Linked DNA regions of Homo sapiens: region 2 is linked to region 1. Evidence: promoter capture Hi-C in 16 types of primary human blood cells and fetal thymus (Javierre and others, 2016). All regions are on one chromosome and are shown on one strand. The core of a region is centred on a gene start or on the middle of the fragment in contact, and the rest is flanking DNA. Distances in the headings are between cores, read along the strand shown. Region 1 holds the start of NPBWR1 (neuropeptides B and W receptor 1). Region 2 overlaps RB1CC1 (RB1 inducible coiled-coil 1).

Evidence for each region. The method cuts DNA at HindIII sites, captures the fragments that hold promoters and counts their contacts. A CHiCAGO score of 5 or more calls a contact.
Region 2: a fragment that was not itself captured here is called in contact with the fragment with the promoter of NPBWR1 in region 1 in 1 of 17 cell types (total CD8 T cells); the score reaches 5.1 in total CD8 T cells.

What each region holds. Positions count from the first base shown.
Region 1 is chr8:52,935,549-52,942,726 of GRCh38, forward strand. NPBWR1 (neuropeptides B and W receptor 1) reads left to right here and starts at 3,634. Exons shown (of 2, transcript NM_005285.5): 1 at 3,634-3,818; 2 at 4,163-7,178. The coding sequence starts at 4,360. The coding sequence ends at 5,346. RefSeq lists enhancers at 3,809-4,440, 4,441-5,072. The HindIII fragment of the contact is 12,259 bases long and covers 1-3,881 here.
Region 2 is chr8:52,657,208-52,664,385 of GRCh38, forward strand. RB1CC1 (RB1 inducible coiled-coil 1) reads right to left here. Exons shown (of 24, transcript NM_014781.5): 9 at 4,328-4,512; 10 at 3,888-4,074; 11 at 3,719-3,800; 12 at 3,389-3,450; 13 at 1,666-1,769; 14 at 791-917; 15 at 1-701. Among named protein-coding and RNA genes, the nearest start is that of RB1CC1, 54 kb to the right of the region's middle. The HindIII fragment of the contact is 207 bases long and covers 3,813-4,019 here.

The sequences.
Region 1 (7,178 bases), core at 2,384-4,883:
GCCTGTAGTCCCAGCTACTCAGGAGGCTGAGGTAGGAGAATGGCGTGAACCCGGGAGGTGGGGCTTGCAGTGAGCCAAGATCGTTCCATTGCACTCCAGCTTGGGCGACAGAGCGAGACTCTGTCTCAAAAAAAAAAAAAACAAAAAAAGAGAAAAAAGAAATAGAAACCTAGTTAAAGATGTTATAATGATAAAAGGTAATATATACAGATAATATTATAATTATATGTGATATATTCTATATTATAATGTTAAATGTATGATCATTTGATAAAATCAAATAACATGATGATAAAATCATTATAATTAGGCTATCAAGATGAAAGGGTAAATTCCACAGGAAAATATAGCGATCTTAAACTCGTGTACCCTTAATAAAACAGCATCAAATTATGTAGTGAAAATTGGCCAGTCATGGTGGCTTGTGCCTGTAATCCCAGCACTTTGGGAGGCCAAGGCAGGCGGATCGCTTGAGGTCAGAAGTTCGAGACCAGTCTGGCCAACATGGTGAAACTCCATCTCCACAAAAAATACAAAAAAAAAGAAAATTAGCTGGGCGTGGTGGTGTGCCCCTGTAGTCCCAGCTACTCGGGAGGCTGAGGCAGGAGAATCACTTGAACCTGGGAGGCACAGGCTCCCACCACCACACTTCAGCCTGGGCAACAGAGTGAGTGAGACTCTATCTCAAAAAAAAAAAAAAGTAAAATTACGTAGTACAAGTTGACAGCATATAATGAAAGCGTAAGTAGAGAAATTCACACTCATTAATTGAAATTCCCCCCCCCCGTCCTTTCAGTAACTAATGAGACAGTTAGATAAAAATATCAGCAGAAGCCAGGCACGGTGGCTCACACATGTAATCCCAGCACTTTAGGAGGCTGAGGTTGGTGGTTCGCTTGAGCTCAGGAACTCAAGACCAGCCTGGGCAACATGGTGAGATCCTGCCTCTACGAAAAATACAAAAAATTAGCCTGGTGTGGTGATGCGCACCTGTAATCCCAGCTACTAGGGGTGCTGAGAGGGGATGATTACTTGTGCCCAGGAGGTTGAGGCTGCAGTGAGCTGCAATTGCACCACTGTACTTCAGCCTGGGTGACAAAGCAAGACCCAGTCTCAAAAAAAAAGAAAAAAAATCAATAGAGAAATTTGAACAACATAGTAAGTTTGACTAGTTGACATATGTAGAGTTTTGCACCCAACAAGTGCAAAACAATTTTTCAAGTACACATGAAATAATTAGAAAATAACTATATACTGGGGAGTAAGTTTCAAAAAATATCTATGAATTGAAGTCATATTGAGTATGTTCTCAGTTTACAGTGTAATTCAACTGGAAGTCAACAATAAAAAGGCTAGAAAATCTCCAAACGGTTGAAGATGATCAACTATATACATACATGTGTATATATACACATAAACATATATGGACACACGTGTATACATACGTGTATATACACGTATATACACATGTGCATATGTGTATACAAACATTCACACGTGTATACACACGTGTATAAACTATATACATGTGCATATATACACACATACACACATGTGTGTATATATGTGTGTATATACACACGTGTGTATGTGTATATACACGTGTGCATATGTGTGTGTATATACACACAAGTGTGCATATATGTGTGTATATACACTGTGTATGTGTGTGTATATACACGTGCATATGTGTCTGTATATACACGTGTGTATATGTGCGTGTATATATGCGTGTGTATATATGTGTGTGTATATACACGTGTGTGTATATATGTGTATGTATACACGTATGTGTATATAGTTGATCATCTTCAACCGTTTGGAGATTTTCTATTATATATATTTTTTCTTTAACATTATATGGTGTTTTATCATATAGTGTTTCTTACGGACATAGCTTAAGAATCATCTGTTATTTTGTTTCACAGAAAGTGTGAAACTGCAGGGGAGCCGATTTGTATAGATCCTGGTAAAAAGATAATTGAGTAGGTAAATTCCAGGGAGCTTTTGGACAGTGGATCCCCCTGTCAGTGGTTTTGGAGTCCCTAGTTTCAGTTACTCGTGGTCAACTGTGGTCTAAAAATATTAAACAGAAAATTCCAGGAATAAACAGTTCCTAGGTTTTCAATTGTGTTGACTTCTGATTGGCGTGATGAGATCCAGCCATCTTACTCCTTCCCACAGAAAGTGAGTCCTCCCTTTGCCCAGCGTTTCCCTGCTGTCTACAATATCCACCTGTTAGTCACTTCACAATCTGGGTTATTAGATGACTGTGGCAATGACCAGTGTGGTGTCTTCAAGTTGCCTTGATTTTACTGACTTTTTGCCCTTATTTCTCTCTGGCTCCAAAGTGCAAGAGAAGTGATGCTGGCAATTCAGATATGCCAAAGAGAAGCTGCAAATGCCTCCTTTAAGTTAAAAGGTAAAAATTCTGGACTTAATAAGGAAAGAAAAAAAATCATATGCAGAGGTTGCCAAGATCTACTAAAAACAAATCTATCCACGAAAATGTGAAGAAGAAAAAAGAAATGCATGCTAGTTTTGCTGTTGCATCATTTTTGGATGGAAGAACAGAAACATGTTCCCATTGACCGCAATGGGTACTATCCATGGTTTCAGGCATCCACTGGGGCTCTTGGAACCTATCCCCCATAGGTATGGGGGGGCTACTGTATTTCTGGCCCCACAGTCTTCTACTGCCGACTTTAGGTCTCTCTGGATCTCAGGCCCCCTTCTCTAAGATGCATCCTAGAGGACCAAAAATACACTTTATTTGGGCTTCGCCTGCTTTTGTGGAAGGGTAGTTTACTAGAGGATATAATCTCGTGTTTTAATTTGCTCTCTCTCCTAAAGGAAATGTGGAGAAAAAAAAAAAGCAGAAATTGGAAATAACCAATATTTAGTTTATTTCATTCGATTCTTAGGGGAACTGGTGAGGAGCCTAAGATGATTTTCCCTTCCTAGAGAAAGAATCCAAAGTCCAGGGAAATAGCGACAGGGGAGTTCAAGACTGCCCCTGCTAGTCCTTCCTTGGCTACTCTCCGCTGCGATCGCAGGATAGCTCTCATTAGCAGGAGAATCGGGCAAGTGTGTGGATAAGTAGAGAGTGTGTTGAACAACTTGTAACGTTTTATGAAATACGCATTGTCATGGTTCCCTAAAAGGCTTTGCGGAAGCCGTTTGTCTTTACTAATCAAGTCTTTACTTACACAAAAGTAGAAGTAGAAGTAGTTTTAGAAAACATACTAACAATCTTCTATCCCCTTGAAGACCAGAGTAGCAGAAAACAGGTGATTTGCATTATAAAATTGCACTCACTTTTTCCTCCTTTCAGATTTCACATTACATTAGCCTATTTGTGTTACGGTGTATAAAAAATGGAACAGGCGCCTCCACTACATTGTTCTCCTTTAAAAATAGATCACTTACACCCTAACTTTGTTTTCCTTAAATTCGATTCTTAACAGGAGAGCTTTCTATTATTTCAGATGGAGTGAGGTTGCACGACTGGGATGGAAGAAAGGAATCCCTTAAATTTGGGGGAATTTCTGTTCTCTGTTCTAAGACCATTTTACTTGGGGTGTGGGGGTGGGCGCGGCGGTCAGGGCAGTGGAACGCAGTCGCGGCTGCGCCATCCCTGCACTTCCAGGCGCGCGGGAGGGACCGGCGGGGACGCGAGCTGCGGACTCTGGCGAACTCGGGGGAGGCAGACAGGGGGAGGCGGACACCCAGCCGGCAGGCGTCTCAGCCTCCCCGCAGCCGGCGGGCTTTTCTCCTGACAGCTCCAGGAAAGGCAGACCCCTTCCCCAGCCAGCCAGGTAAGGTAAAGACTGCTGTTGAGCTTGCTGTTACTGAGGGCGCACAGACCCTGGGGAGACCGAAGCTTGCCACTGCGGGATTCTGTGGGGTAACCTGGGTCTACGGAAGTTTCCTGAAAGAGGGGAGAAGGGTTTGCATTTTTCCTATGGAGGATTCTTCTCTCTCTAGCATTTCGTTTGATGTATTCAACTGGTAGAAGTGAGATTTCAACAGGTAGCAGAGAGCGCTCACGTGGAGGAGGTTTGGGGCGCCGCGGCGCCACCCCCACCCCTCCTCGGGACCGCGCCTATTTCTAAAGTTACACGTCGACGAACTAACCTATGCTTTAAATTCCTCTTTCCAGCCCCGTGAGTCCGCGGCGACATTGGGCCGTGGGGTGGCTGGGAACGGTCCCCTCCTCCGGAAAAACCAGAGAACGGCTTGGAGAGCTGAAACGAGCGTCCGCGAGCAGGTCCGTGCAGAACCGGGCTTCAGGACCGCTGAGCTCCGTAGGGCGTCCTTGGGGGACGCCAGGTCGCCGGCTCCTCTGCCCTCGTTGAGATGGACAACGCCTCGTTCTCGGAGCCCTGGCCCGCCAACGCATCGGGCCCGGACCCGGCGCTGAGCTGCTCCAACGCGTCGACTCTGGCGCCGCTGCCGGCGCCGCTGGCGGTGGCTGTACCAGTTGTCTACGCGGTGATCTGCGCCGTGGGTCTGGCGGGCAACTCCGCCGTGCTGTACGTGTTGCTGCGGGCGCCCCGCATGAAGACCGTCACCAACCTGTTCATCCTCAACCTGGCCATCGCCGACGAGCTCTTCACGCTGGTGCTGCCCATCAACATCGCCGACTTCCTGCTGCGGCAGTGGCCCTTCGGGGAGCTCATGTGCAAGCTCATCGTGGCTATCGACCAGTACAACACCTTCTCCAGCCTCTACTTCCTCACCGTCATGAGCGCCGACCGCTACCTGGTGGTGTTGGCCACTGCGGAGTCGCGCCGGGTGGCCGGCCGCACCTACAGCGCCGCGCGCGCGGTGAGCCTGGCCGTGTGGGGGATCGTCACACTCGTCGTGCTGCCCTTCGCAGTCTTCGCCCGGCTAGACGACGAGCAGGGCCGGCGCCAGTGCGTGCTAGTCTTTCCGCAGCCCGAGGCCTTCTGGTGGCGCGCGAGCCGCCTCTACACGCTCGTGCTGGGCTTCGCCATCCCCGTGTCCACCATCTGTGTCCTCTATACCACCCTGCTGTGCCGGCTGCATGCCATGCGGCTGGACAGCCACGCCAAGGCCCTGGAGCGCGCCAAGAAGCGGGTGACCTTCCTGGTGGTGGCAATCCTGGCGGTGTGCCTCCTCTGCTGGACGCCCTACCACCTGAGCACCGTGGTGGCGCTCACCACCGACCTCCCGCAGACGCCGCTGGTCATCGCTATCTCCTACTTCATCACCAGCCTGAGCTACGCCAACAGCTGCCTCAACCCCTTCCTCTACGCCTTCCTGGACGCCAGCTTCCGCAGGAACCTCCGCCAGCTGATAACTTGCCGCGCGGCAGCCTGACTCCCCCAGCGTCCGGCTCCGCAACTGCCCGCCACTCCTGGCCAGCGAGGGAGGAGCCGGCGCCAGAGTGCGGGACCAGACAGGCCGCCTAGGCCTCCTGGGGAAACCGACTCGCGCCCCATACCCGACCTAGCAGATCGGAAGCGCTGCGACTGTGCCCGCAGGTTGACCTTGCCAAGCCCTCCAGGTGATGCGCGGCCATGCCGGGTGAGGAGAACTGAGGCTGAGATCGCCACACTGAGGGCTCCCTAAAGCCGAGGTGGAGGAAGAGGAGGGTAGAGGAGGAGGGCGGTATTGCTGGGAACCGCCCCCTCCCTGCCCTGCTCCCTGCTGCCCCACCCGAGCCCTGGCAGTCTGGAACCTGGCTGGAGTCGGAACTCTCCGCGCCTTCGAAGGGAGGCCCGAGGACGCTGCCGGCGCCCCCAGGCGTCGGCTCCGCGCGGCCCCTGCTGTAGCTGGCGCACAGCCCCGGCGGGTCCCCTTGTCCTCCGCGCGCTCTGGGAAGACGGTCAGGCGCGCGCGTTTGGCGCCCACCCCTGTGAGACCCGCTTGGCCTGGCGCCGCGGGCGGGGACCGCTGCCGAGGCCGCCAGCGCCTCTTCAACTGGGGAAAACACAACAACTCGGGATGCCCCATCGGAGTGTGTATACACCTGTGTGTGTGTGTGTGTGGTGTGCGCGCGTTTGCGGAGGCATGAAATGCGGGGAAAGAGGCTGGCGCTTGGCAGTGACTGCCTAGAATATGATACGAATAGTGATCCTTCTTTCTGTCTGCCCCTACTCCTTTTCTTTGCCTTTTCCCTTTCCTATCCGTGATCTCCCCTGAAAATGTCAGACTCCCGGAGCAAGGAACCCGGAGTAGCCCGGGCGCGCGGTTCCGGCGCCCCCTGGAGGAGCCAGCGGCCGAGTGCTTAGCGTCGGAGGATCGCGGGGCTTTGTGGTGGAGCACTCCGGCTGAGCGCGCTTCACAGCGCTGTGGCACACTGGTCATCGTTGCTTATAGAGGATGCCAAGCCCCACCCCCATTCCCCCAATTGGCCTCGTCTCTTGTCTTACTTAGATCAGTTTGTTGTAACTGTTCATGTGTGTACTGTTTTTCAGGACTGAAAACTTTATAAATAATGTACATGTCCTAATCTCACGAGTTGCCATGAAGATCAAATAAGATAAAAAGAAATGCGATCTATTCTCTTGTGTTCCCTTTCTCCTCTGCTTCCTTGGCTCCGCCTTAGGGAGAGCAGGAAGCAGGGATGACCGACGGCTTCAGGTTTTCTCTGCTGTACTTTTCACAGGGAGCTGTGGATTACCTGGGCTTTATTCCTTACTTGTAGACGGCATCCGGTAGGTAGTCCCGGTAAACCGGGTAAATACTGGTCCTGGAGTCACCAGGGAGATTGGCCAGCATCCTACCTGTGTTTTTGTCTCTGCATATGGAAGACAAAGTGGATTAAGAGAGAGGACTGGCATTGGGTTTGCCCAATCCTCTGCAGTTTAGCCTTAGACATGAGGGCCGAACCCTAAGCAAAGTCTGGTAATTGATTATGGTGTTTTAAAAGGTATTAATCTTTAGGATGAAGTCCAAACAGGATGAAAATTTCTACAAATGTTTGTTTCCTATGTCATGTGTGAGAAAAAAAAATGTGAGTGTTGCAGCACATTTTGTTTGCTTAGTTTGGCATCTTCAATCAATTTCTCAATTATTTAGGTTGAAAATAGCTTTTAATAAATATTTGGAAGGAAAAAACTCCCCCTTGGAATGGGGGGAAGCAAACCCCCTCTCTAATTTTGGTGAATAAGAATTGCTTTCTTAGCTCTCAGAGTTTTTAGGAACAT
Region 2 (7,178 bases), core at 2,666-5,165, 280 kb before region 1:
TATTCATTTTTTAAAGACAGTAGTTCTTTTTGATGTTTTTCTTTTAGTGTTATTTCCAGAGAACATTTTACTTTTTCAATAATGTTTCTTATTTCTACTGCTGTACATTTTAATGAATTTGAGAAGTCACACTGTTCTTTTTGTACAAATGTTCTAAAGTGGCAAAGGTCTTCCTTAATGGTTTGTATACTGAAGTGAGAGTCTTGGGCAACAACTCTACATCTTTCCAACTGGACATTCAGAGAAGTATGATCTCCAAAATCCTCCTTACCACATACATTTGTATCCTGCATTCGTCTACTGTCTATCGCATTGATAACTGATGAATAAAGTGATTCCACCATCATTTCTGGGCTTTGTGGATCACTTATAGGATTAGGAGACGACAAATTTTCTTCTATTACAAACTCATTCACAGCAGACATAAAATCTGATTCAGGACTTTCTGCTAATGAATCCAAGTCTAAAGAAACTTGGTGAATAGTCTGTTCTATGTTTGGATGGGGAATAGTTTCAAAATCAAACGTATGTGCATCAATACTATCTGGAGATAATTCTTCTAAGGGACAAACTGCAGGACATAAGGGATCCTGAACAGTCAGTGGTGGAGGAGTTCTCGGTGAGGTAGTAGTTGTAATTCCTGCTGTACTTTCCATCCTTGGTGAAGAAGCAGACTGTGGGGATGTCTGACTCACAGATGCCTGGAAAACAGAAAGAAAGGCTTAAAGAGCTGCAGGAACACAAACATTTTACACTAATGAAGAAAACTGTTTGAAAGAATTGAATTTGCCTTTTGTTCACTCAGTAGATCTGTAATGGTCTGTGACATTTCATCCAAACTTTGTGCTGCTTTTACCAAATTATGTAGAGCAAGTACATGCTGGTGTAGAGGTTCAAAGTCACAAAGTAAGGGAACCCTGAAACAGAATGCAATGCAATTAGACTTCTGATTTTTTAATGAACTAGTAGATAACTGCTACCAAATATTTTAATATGTCAAAAATAACAAGAGCCTTATCATTCCTTTTTAAATTAATACCAGAAGTATTTTAAGAAGTTTGTGTCATAATCAGTAAAGTAAAAACTTAGGGCCGGGCGTGGTGGATCACACCTATAATCCAAGCACTTTGGGAGGCCTAGGCGGGTGGATCATGAGGTCAGGAGTTCGAGACCAGCCTGGCCAACATGGTGAAACCACATCTCTACTAAAAATACAAAAATTAGCAGGGCATGGTGGTGGGCTCCTGTAATCCCAGCTACTCAGGAGGCTGAGGCAGGAGAACTGCTGGAACATGGGAGGTGAAGGTTGCAGTGAGCCAGTATCACACCATTGCACTCCAGCCTGGGCGAGAGAGCGAGACTCCGTCTCAAGAAAAAAAAAAAAAAAAAAAAAAGTAAAAAGTCAGAAATTTCCCAACAGCATGCAAAAAGTAACTACTAGAAAAAAATAATTACATGTAAGGCATGTCTTCCTTTACTTTACCTTCATTTTCCATCATTTTTTATTCCCCAGAAATTTCTCAAAGCAGTCACAGGAAAGCCAGTCTATCTTAAATATTTCTTATCTTGGCACCTCTTAAGATTACTGGTACTACCTGGCACAACTCCAGAATAATAAAAACATTTTAAGGTTATAAATTAACTGAAAATACTAATGACATTTACCTGAGGAATGGCTGAACTTCCGAAGGACAAAATGATTGCAGAAACTGTAAATCTTTTAATGAAATATCTGGAAGTTCACAGTCAAACTTTCGAGGCTTTTGAGTCTGTACCAAAAAAATTAATTACTTAAAAAATTTTTTTTCAACCAAAAACAGACAGCAAATTTATATGATTTCTTACTATAATTAAATTTACTATACCAAACAAACTAAAGTGCTTTAAATGATTAAGAAACAAAAAAAGACCATTCAATAAAGATATGGCATATTATTTTCCTGAGCCTTTAGTAAACTGCGACGTGAACTGCTAGTGATCAAGGGATGCACTTGTTCCTCCCCTTCTCTGCTTTTAGCATCATTTTATGGGAATTACAATATTCCTATCCTGTATGTGTATGTATGTACATATACATATGGTAAACACATATGTAAGTGTGTGCGTATATATATAATATTTACCATGTTAAAGCCACTAATATATTAAAATGCACACATGTATTTTTTTTCCATGTAACACTTTCTTATTTGCTTTTGCCTTGACTTTTCCATTACATTTTCCAGAAGACAAAGTTTTGGTCAATTTTAGCTTCTGTAAAAAATATTAACCGGTAAATCCTACCAATTCATTATTTATAAAATTGCCAAGAGTTGCATTAAAAAAAAACTTGTTTTAAATCATTACTCAAGCAGATGTGGAGATGCCAAGATGCTCTTCATAAAAAAGAGTTCTCGGATAAATAAGTATGGGAATCGCTATGTCACCAATTCTTATGTATTAAAAAATGCATACATTTAAAACACTAAGAAATCCTGCAGTATAGAAACATGTTTAACAGCTAAGCATGGCTGGGCGTGGTGGCTCACGCCTGTAACCTGAACAATTTGGGAGGCCAAGGTGGGCAGAACACTTGGGGCCAGGAGTTTGAGACCAGCTGGCCAACACGGTGAAACCCCGTCTCTACTAAAATACAAAAACTTAGCTGGATGTGGTGGCAGGCACCTCTAGTCCCAGCTACTTGGGAGGCTGAGGCACAAGAACAGCTTGAACCCAGGAGGCTGAGGTTGCAGTGAGATGAGATTGTGCCACTGCACTCCAGCCTGGACAACAGAGCAAGACTCTTGTCTCCAAAACAACAACAACACAGCTAAGAGTACATCTGATGGGGGTAAAAGCCCCCATATTGCTTTGATCATGGAAACGTTTCTTCTCATGTAATACAATTAATGACCCCAGATAACAATGGTTTAGAAACATATCAAACTAACGTTTAATTCCAGTGAAGTCTAACTGAGGCTTTATTATTCTGATTTGTCAAAATATAAAGGGGGGTGGTGTGAAAAGAAATATAGAAGGGCAAGGAGGAGGTGGAGGCTGTAAAGGAGGAGGGAGGGAGAAGAGCAGTGGAAGAAAGAAGAGGGAAGGGTGGAAAGAAAAAAAGGAAGAGACAAGAAAACAAAAAAACCAAGTGAATCTATTTCTACCAATCCTAACAGTGCAGTATAAGGTATCTTCCTGTGTTATGAAGATTCTTTATAAAAAATTATGAATACAAATATCAATCTTAAAGCTTTATGCTAACTGGCTTTTAAAGCCAAAAACACTTTTATTTTGATTTTTTTTAAACCACAACAATTTCTGCAAGTTTCTGATAAATGTCTCTACTTCTGGAAAAAAGGTTTTAAAACATATGGAATTTAGTCATGGTTAGAAAATAAATACATACACAAAAGGAAGGGGGCCAGGAGTCCAGTCCCCTAAACAGACGATTTCTTAAAAAAGACTTCCCTGTATAAAGAAATTAACAATATGGTTATTTTAGAGCTTTATTTAAGGCAAAAAATTATCTCTGGTTTTTGAAAAGGTAAATTAAAAGTTGACAGTACTTCAAGTTTAAAATTTAACAATGGATTCAATTCTATACACTTTAAAAGGAATATTTCCTAGATATCAATGGCAATTAACAGCATATACATGAAGTATGCTACAGAAAATCCAAGCTTATAAAAACTTTTATCCTTTACAAAAGTAATTAAAATTATTAATGAACACTTACTAAATAATTTCCCAAAGGATTCCCTTTTTGATTTTTCTGCTTCATATAATCTCTTTCCATCTTTGACTAAAGCACCAGCCCACTAGAAGAGGAAAGCTTATGTTAAACATAAACATACACCAATTCGTTAAAGTTCATATACAGTTAAAATAGAATTCAACTTGCATACCTCCCTGTAGTGTTTTATGAACATTTTTCTTCTTACAACCTCAACAACAGCTAAGCAGTACATCTGAGGAACTGTACTAAGAGCTTCAACAATTTTGACTCTTTCTAACAGCTCTATTACGAGGCGGAGCAAAGCTTGTAACTTCTCTCCATCTTGATCAGCATGAAGCATTACAAAGCAACACCACCTAGAGAATAAAATCCATTATTTTCAACATTCACAAAACTGGTACTAACTTAGTTACTTACTTAGTAAGCTTACTAACTTAGTTAAGCCAAAGAAATCAAGATATATAAGCTCTACAAAAATAGTCTAATTCCAAAGTTCATCAATAAGGTATTTCAATAAAATGGTAGGGAAAAATCACTCCATCATTTGGGAGAAATAAATATAAATACCAATTCTAAACATCTTAAAACAGATATAAATGAATCACTTACTTCAGTCTGACATGTAGGTTATTTGCTAGTTCTTGTTTGGCAGTGGTACACTTCTGCTTAATATCTAACAGTTTTCTATGATTTTGCAACATAATCATCAACTGATTTGCGTGACTCAGGCATAAATCAGGTAATACAGATGCATCCTTTAAGTTTTCAGCTCTCTTCTGATTAGCTAAAAATCCCTTTGAGAAAAAAAATGTTTCAAAGGACATTAATTTTGTTTCATGAAAGGTATGGACATTCAGTTAAGTGGAAAATCTTTATGTTAAACACAACCCGTTTTGTGCCTTCTAACAATATTTTTAAATCCTCTATTTTTCTCGAATGTAGTAGATGCATAAATGGCACAAGACCTAGAATTTTTAAGAATCCTATGCTCATCTTTAATTTTTCAAACTAGAAGAAAATAAAGGCTAGAAAGATAAAGCCCCTTAGCCAAGGACATACTTAATAGTCAATGAGAATTAGAAGCTATGTGTCTAGAATCCTATAACACTATCGGTCAGTCACAGCACAAACAAAACAAGGTCACTGAAAAACAATAAGGGATTTAATCTAGCAAACATTATACAGTAGTATATTAGACACTTTCCCAAATATAAAAATAATAAAATGCCCTTAAAATATTTATCGAAAAGTCACTGCCCTCTCCAGTTATCTCTGGACTATATTTTGTTCCACTGATCTGTGCTCCCATTGCTAGGACAATGACTGAATTGTGTGATTTTACACAGAGTTTATACTTTATTATTTGGTAGAAAAACATTTTTTCTGTTTTTCTTAACTGTCCTTACTCATTTGTTTTTGTAGGTGAACGGTGTATCTGTCAAGTAGGGATTAAGTTACTAATTAATTTAGATAGATCTGCCATAATCTTCCTTCATTTATCTCTCAAGTATATTTAGTTTTCTTTATATGTGGTCCAAAGATAACTTAATAAGGTTATTACTACATACTTTATTGCTACCACAAAGTTTTTTCCTATGCTATATACCAAGTGGCTTATATGTAATAATGTTGTAGGTTTTGTACATCCATCTGATTGCTGTATTGATACTGTAAATAAATCATTATCCTTCTAGGAACTTAACTTTATGACCAGCTAAAGGACAAGTGTGTCTTCCAATTTTCTGGTAGTTCTCTGTTTCATGTTTTCCTAAATATCATGACATTTAGATTTGAATGATATATACTGAAGTCAAACTGGTTCAATATCTGAAAGGAAGACAATTTTCATAGTAACTGTATGCCTTTTTTTTCCCTTTCAATATACTCTTTGGTTAACTGCAACTATAATTTTTCTATAATGTAATCTATTAAAAAACAATTTGCTACTTTTAACTCCTTTCGCAAAGTCTGGTTTTCAATTACTTTTTATTGAATCCATGAAAAATATAGAATCAATCCCAAATTTAAATTCTAGACCATTAGTAAAGGATTTCCTGACACCAAAAGCATGTAAGTACTGTATTGCTAAAAGAAGGAAAAAATAAAGTTTTTCAATAAATTGAATTTCATATTTGCTCAACCATACTCAATATAATTCAGACTAAATAGAAAAAATCCTCATAAATCATCTAGTACTAATTCATTACTAATATTTTTACACGCAAATAAGGTTTGACAGCTACATGAGCTACATGATAGCACTGTAGTACTCACAATCGTGTTCCAGATGCATTCAGCCAAATTTGGTTCAGGAAGAAAACTCCCTGATATTTCCTAATTTTGCTGATAACCCTCAAGGATACGAATGGCTAGAGAATGAATATTCAGGGCTCCAGTGTTACACAGCTTCATAGGTTTGGTGAGTGAGGTTTTTTTTTTTGCCAAAACCATGTAGAAGGGTCTACAACAATCCTCATAAATGTTGTGGTTTTAAGAAATTACCCCTTCAAAGGCATTTGAAATGGTCTCTATCTTATGAGATGTTCAGGCAATAAATAATAAATCCCTTTCCACAATTTCTTTTCCCTTTTAATTGGGAGTGGTTTTAAGTTTTAATTGCTATGTAGCTAGAATGTATTATACTACGTTGTAAATGTGTTTAGCAAGATGTAAAATCAACTCCTAAAATTGGATAATCTGAATTTATCTACTTTTCACCAAACACATTCTAAAGGAAGTACTGACAAACTATCTGCAACAGGGAAATACCATTAGCAGCAACAAAAGTAACTGATGAGACATCTGTAAATAAAAATTCCAGACCAGCCAAAGACTAGATAGAATTGTGACATTTCTCAAATTCAAAAAAACACAAATCCAAATTCTCATTTTATTAAGTATTGATGTGTTCCTACTATGTATGTATCAGGAATGTGTGGTAAGACCTTGTAGATAAAGCAATGGAAGATAGAGTAGTGTCCTGCCTCCTTGGAGCTTATATTCTGGGAAGAGACTGTATTAAACAGCATGTAATTAATAATTACAACTGTGGTACAGGATAAGTACAGCATACTAAGAGAAAATGAACCTGATGATGTGACCAAGACTTCAAGATCAGGAAAGTTTGGCTGAGGAAGTGATGCTTCTGCTAAAACCTTGACTCTGTACATCCCTTGGCGGCAGCCAAATACATGACAATATAGGTGTGAAAAGTTGTCTCACTCACCATATACCTCCTAGCTTCAACTGGGTATCCCTTTTCTCTAATGAGCTCACTGAAAATAATCTTATTAAACTGAATCCTATCACATTCAGATTCATTCAGGCACACTCAATTGAAAACTGTCTACCTTGGGGTCTATATTTCTGTCTTAAATTTTGCTCCCAATATACAACCAGACAATGTAGATGACTTCTTATGAATACTTAGGAGTACCAAAAAATATCCATTGGAGAACTT